Linked DNA regions of Homo sapiens: region 2 is linked to region 1. Evidence: promoter capture Hi-C in human tissues and cell types (Jung and others, 2019). All regions are on one chromosome and are shown on one strand. Each heading gives the region's core, a stretch centred on a gene start or on the middle of the fragment in contact. The rest is flanking DNA. Distances are from core to core; before and after follow the strand shown.

What was found. The method cuts DNA at HindIII sites, captures the fragments that hold promoters and counts their contacts. A contact is called where the count stands out against the background at its distance.
Region 2: a fragment that was not itself captured here is called in contact with the fragment with the promoter of TGFB1 in region 1 in 1 of the 25 tissues and cell types used here (lymphoblastoid cells).

Annotation. Positions count from the first base shown.
Region 1 is chr19:41,352,672-41,355,529 of GRCh38, reverse strand. It overlaps TGFB1 (transforming growth factor beta 1), which reads left to right and starts at 1,608. Exons shown (of 7, transcript NM_000660.7): 1 at 1,608-2,840. The coding sequence starts at 2,486. It overlaps B9D2 (B9 domain containing 2), which reads left to right. Exons shown (of 4, transcript NM_030578.4): 4 at 517-1,113. The coding sequence ends at 830. RefSeq lists enhancers at 731-1,232, 1,156-1,305 and silencers at 1,306-1,835, 1,986-2,055, 2,356-2,435, 2,596-2,858. The HindIII fragment of the contact is 14,181 bases long and covers 1-2,858 here.
Region 2 is chr19:40,672,224-40,675,081 of GRCh38, reverse strand. It overlaps NUMBL (NUMB like endocytic adaptor protein), which reads left to right. Exons shown (of 10, transcript NM_004756.5): 8 at 1,433-1,738. Among named protein-coding and RNA genes, the nearest start is that of NUMBL, 17 kb to the left of the region's middle. The HindIII fragment of the contact is 7,936 bases long and covers 1-2,858 here.

The DNA of each region.
Region 1 (2,858 bases), core at 359-2,858:
GAGAGAAAGATGCTTCCAGATGCCAGGTGGAAGGTGGATTAGAGAGGGGCAAGAAAGAAGGCCCTGGGCCCAAAGAGAGCAGGGCAGGGACATGAGGGAAGGCAGGAGGTGTCCCTGACAAGGCCCATGATGGTTACCTGGGGACTGGAGGAGCAATGGGCTGCCCTGACATGGGGTCATGGAGGAGGATAACACAGAGAGGAAATTCAGCAGAGGTCTGATTAGAAGGGCCTTGAATGTTGAAGAGGTTGGACTTTATACTGAGGGCACTGGGGAGCTATGGAAGGATCCTTAGCAGGGGAGTAACATGGATTTGGAAAGATCACTTTGGCTGCTGTGTGGGGATAGATAAGACGGTGGGAGCCTAGAAAGGAGGCTGGGTTGGAAACTCTGGGACAGAAACCCAGAGAGGAAAAGACTGGGCCTGGGGTCTCCAGTGAGTATCAGGGAGTGGGGAATCAGCAGGAGTCTGGTCCCCACCCATCCCTCCTTTCCCCTCTCTCTCCTTTCCTGCAGGCTGGCCCCGGCTCCATTTCCAGGTGTGGTCCCAGGACAGCTTTGGCCGCTGCCAGCTTGCAGGCTATGGATTTTGCCATGTGCCCAGTAGCCCGGGCACCCACCAGCTGGCCTGCCCCACGTGGCGGCCCCTGGGCAGTTGGCGAGAACAGTTGGCACGGGCTTTCGTGGGTGGTGGGCCGCAGCTGCTGCATGGGGACACCATCTACAGTGGGGCCGACCGCTATCGCCTGCACACAGCTGCTGGTGGCACCGTGCACCTGGAGATCGGCCTGCTGCTCCGCAACTTCGACCGCTACGGCGTGGAGTGCTGAGGGACTCTGCCTCCAACGTCACCACCATCCACACCCCGGACACCCAGTGATGGGGGAGGATGGCACAGTGGTCAAGAGCACAGACTCTAGAGACTGTCAGAGCTGACCCCAGCTAAGGCATGGCACCGCTTCTGTCCTTTCTAGGACCTCGGGGTCCCTCTGGGCCCAGTTTCCCTATCTGTAAATTGGGGACAGTAAATGTATGGGGTCGCAGGGTGTTGAGTGACAGGAGGCTGCTTAGCCACATGGGAGGTGCTCAGTAAAGGAGAGCAATTCTTACAGGTGTCTGCCTCCTGACCCTTCCATCCTTCAGGTGTCCTGTTGCCCCCTCCTCCCACTGACACCCTCCGGAGGCCCCCATGTTGACAGACCCTCTTCTCCTACCTTGTTTCCCAGCCTGACTCTCCTTCCGTTCTGGGTCCCCCTCCTCTGGTCGGCTCCCCTGTGTCTCATCCCCCGGATTAAGCCTTCTCCGCCTGGTCCTCTTTCTCTGGTGACCCACACCGCCCGCAAAGCCACAGCGCATCTGGATCACCCGCTTTGGTGGCGCTTGGCCGCCAGGAGGCAGCACCCTGTTTGCGGGGCGGAGCCGGGGTGCCCGCCCCCTTTCCCCCAGGGCTGAAGGGACCCCCCTCGGAGCCCGCCCACGCGAGATGAGGACGGTGGCCCAGCCCCCCCATGCCCTCCCCCTGGGGGCCGCCCCCGCTCCCGCCCCGTGCGCTTCCTGGGTGGGGCCGGGGGCGGCTTCAAAACCCCCTGCCGACCCAGCCGGTCCCCGCCGCCGCCGCCCTTCGCGCCCTGGGCCATCTCCCTCCCACCTCCCTCCGCGGAGCAGCCAGACAGCGAGGGCCCCGGCCGGGGGCAGGGGGGACGCCCCGTCCGGGGCACCCCCCCGGCTCTGAGCCGCCCGCGGGGCCGGCCTCGGCCCGGAGCGGAGGAAGGAGTCGCCGAGGAGCAGCCTGAGGCCCCAGAGTCTGAGACGAGCCGCCGCCGCCCCCGCCACTGCGGGGAGGAGGGGGAGGAGGAGCGGGAGGAGGGACGAGCTGGTCGGGAGAAGAGGAAAAAAACTTTTGAGACTTTTCCGTTGCCGCTGGGAGCCGGAGGCGCGGGGACCTCTTGGCGCGACGCTGCCCCGCGAGGAGGCAGGACTTGGGGACCCCAGACCGCCTCCCTTTGCCGCCGGGGACGCTTGCTCCCTCCCTGCCCCCTACACGGCGTCCCTCAGGCGCCCCCATTCCGGACCAGCCCTCGGGAGTCGCCGACCCGGCCTCCCGCAAAGACTTTTCCCCAGACCTCGGGCGCACCCCCTGCACGCCGCCTTCATCCCCGGCCTGTCTCCTGAGCCCCCGCGCATCCTAGACCCTTTCTCCTCCAGGAGACGGATCTCTCTCCGACCTGCCACAGATCCCCTATTCAAGACCACCCACCTTCTGGTACCAGATCGCGCCCATCTAGGTTATTTCCGTGGGATACTGAGACACCCCCGGTCCAAGCCTCCCCTCCACCACTGCGCCCTTCTCCCTGAGGACCTCAGCTTTCCCTCGAGGCCCTCCTACCTTTTGCCGGGAGACCCCCAGCCCCTGCAGGGGCGGGGCCTCCCCACCACACCAGCCCTGTTCGCGCTCTCGGCAGTGCCGGGGGGCGCCGCCTCCCCCATGCCGCCCTCCGGGCTGCGGCTGCTGCCGCTGCTGCTACCGCTGCTGTGGCTACTGGTGCTGACGCCTGGCCGGCCGGCCGCGGGACTATCCACCTGCAAGACTATCGACATGGAGCTGGTGAAGCGGAAGCGCATCGAGGCCATCCGCGGCCAGATCCTGTCCAAGCTGCGGCTCGCCAGCCCCCCGAGCCAGGGGGAGGTGCCGCCCGGCCCGCTGCCCGAGGCCGTGCTCGCCCTGTACAACAGCACCCGCGACCGGGTGGCCGGGGAGAGTGCAGAACCGGAGCCCGAGCCTGAGGCCGACTACTACGCCAAGGAGGTCACCCGCGTGCTAATGGTGGAAACCCACAACGGTGAGCTCGGAGGGGCAG
Region 2 (2,858 bases), core at 203-2,702, 680 kb after region 1:
AACCTCTGCCTCCCGGGTTCAAGCGATTCTCCTGCCTCAGCCTCCAGAGTAGCTGGAATCCCAGGCGTGTGCCACCACACCCAGCTAATCTTTTTTTGTATTTTTAGTAGAGATGGTGTTTCACCATGTTGGCAAGGCTGGTCTTGAACTCCTGGCTTCAACTGATCCCCCCACCTTGGCCTCTCAAAGTGCTGGGATTACAGGCGTGAACCACTGTGTCCAGGCATGCTTTTGTTGGATTCCAAAACATTTAACATTCACTACCTAAACTGACCCTCTCAGAGGCTTGGGAGGTAGCACTGAGATGTTTATCCCAGGTTTCTAGTTGGCAAACTGGAGCCCAGAGAGGGGAGGGGACTTCCTGAGGTCACACAGTGAGTGGAGGCAGAGGAGGTTTCCTGGTTCCAACCTGTCCTGGGCTGTTTCCACTGCCTTGGGCCAGGCCTGCATGGGTGCCCCATTGTGTCACGATGGGAGAAGCAGCACTGGGCGACATCCTTATGGGAGGGTCTCTCTGGGCCTGAGTTTAATCTCCATGGCATTCAGGCTGCAGCTCGGGGAGGCCCTGGTAGGAGGGTAGATGTGTGTTTGTGGTTTGGCAGGGGTGAGGGCAGCCCTGCCCTTGAAGAGCCTGCCTCTCCTGCTGAGTGGGGAGGTCAGGTTTCCTCCCAGAGTACAGAGAACAGTCTCAGAGTGGAGGGAGCCAGGCTGAGAGCCTGGAACAATCTGGAAAGCTTCTCAGAGGATGAAGCATCCAAGCCATGTCTAGAATGACTGGAGGAAGGGAGGAGCTACTTGAGGTGGGAAGAAGGCTGGGAGGTGGGAGACAGAGGGGAACAGACAGTGACAGAGAAAGACAACATGATATGGAGAGACAGGTCAGAGGGAGACAGGGCGGGCAGTCATTTGGAGCATGGGGTCCAGAGTCAGCCTGCCCCTTCCTAGCAGTAGGACTTGGGCACATCACACTGGGCCTTTGCTGGGTCTCAGTTTCCACATCTGTAAAATGAGAATCATATCAACCCCATGGGTAGTCGTGTGGATTGAATGAGTGAATACTTGAAAAGCATCTGGAACAATGCCTGATACGTTGTTCCAGCACCAAATCAGTGTTTGTTAAGTGATCAAAAAGGGAGATAGAGGGTCTTAGAGGGAAGAATGGTGAGAGCAGCAGGGCAAGACAGAAAGGGGCAGGAAGCTGGAGAGACACAGAGGGTGAGCCTGGGGGACGGTTTTCCAAGAGCCTCCTGGGGAAGGGGATCATGACTTGGGTGGGGGTGAGGGATATCTCAGGGCTTTGACTAGCTTGTCTTAAGGGCAGGACTCACTGGGCAAGGAAGGCAGCCTTGGAGAATGATCAAGAGAACCAGGTGGGAGAGGCCTTGCATGCCATGGTGAGATATCTAACCATCCATCTCCCCCATGTCTCCAGCAGAGGCAGCAGCTGCCCCCACTGTGGCTCCTGGCCCTGCCCAGCCTGGGCACGTGTCCCCGACACCAGCCACCACATCCCCTGGTGAGAAGGGTGAGGCAGGCACCCCTGTGGCTGCAGGCACCACTGCGGCCGCCATCCCCCGGCGCCATGCACCCCTGGAGCAGCTGGTTCGCCAGGGCTCCTTCCGTGGGTTCCCAGCACTCAGCCAGAAGAACTCGCCTTTCAAACGGCAGCTGAGCCTACGGCTGAATGAGCTGCCATCCACGCTGCAGCGCCGCACTGACTTCCAGGTGAAGGGCACAGGTGAGCCCTGGGCCCAGTGGGAAACGGCGTTGGAATCAATTGGCACTATCTGATGTGGGCAAGGGATGGAGGCGAGATGGTTCACACTGTGATTGATTTGCACTGTCTGCCATGGGCAAAGGAGAGAGAGTGGGAACATGTCATGATCGATTAGCAGTGGGCAAGGGAGAGGAAAGAGATAGCACAAATCAGGATTGATAAGCCGTGTCTGCTCTGAGTAAGGGATAGTAGAAAGGCATCACAAGTTATGATCAGTTAGCAATGTCTGGTGTGGTTAAGGAAAAGGAGAAAGATGACACACATCATGATTAGTTAGCAAAGTCGGCTATGGACAAAGAAGTCGGGCATGGATAAGGAAGTTTGCCATGGGCCAGGGAAAGAAGAGAAGCAACACCATTGGCCTGTTTTTGCTCAGGAGTAGACTGAAGCACTACAGGTTAATGCTCCCTCCCTCCAAGCATTCACCTATGAGATCTGGCTAGGTGAAGGATACAGGTATTCCTCAGGCTCTGAGGAAAGGAGGATTGTGATGGATTAGAAATGTCTGCCTAGGGCAGGGAGCATCAAGGGATGGCAAAAAAGGCATCACAAGTCATGATCAATTAGCAATGTCTGCTGTGGTTAAGGGAAACGAGAAAGATGGCACACATCATGATCGGTTAGCAGTCATGATCTCCATGCAGTGTGTGTCATGGGCAAGGGAGAAGAAAGAGTAGCAAGAGTGTTATGTTTTTACCCAAAGGGGAGACTCCCAGAATTTGGTCAGTAGAAACATGACATGCAGGGCACCAGTGAGCTCAGAGATCCCAGGGGTCAGGGGCATAGTGATGGATCAGGAACATTTGTTGTAGGCACAGAGTTGAGCAGAGGCAGTACCCATCACGAAAAGGAGCAGCACATCATAATTGATTGGCATTGTCTGCCATGGCTGGTGGTAAGAGAGAGGAGATATAAAGGTCCTGTTTTACTTGGAGGGAAGATGGAGTTACAAGGATCTGTTTCTTCTAGCACTTGGCCAGGGGAGCCATGAGGTCTGGACAGGTGACGGGTAAGGTGAGCAAAGAGCTCCGTGGGGGAAAAAAGCATTGTGTTTGATTACTAATGTCTGCCATGGGCCAGG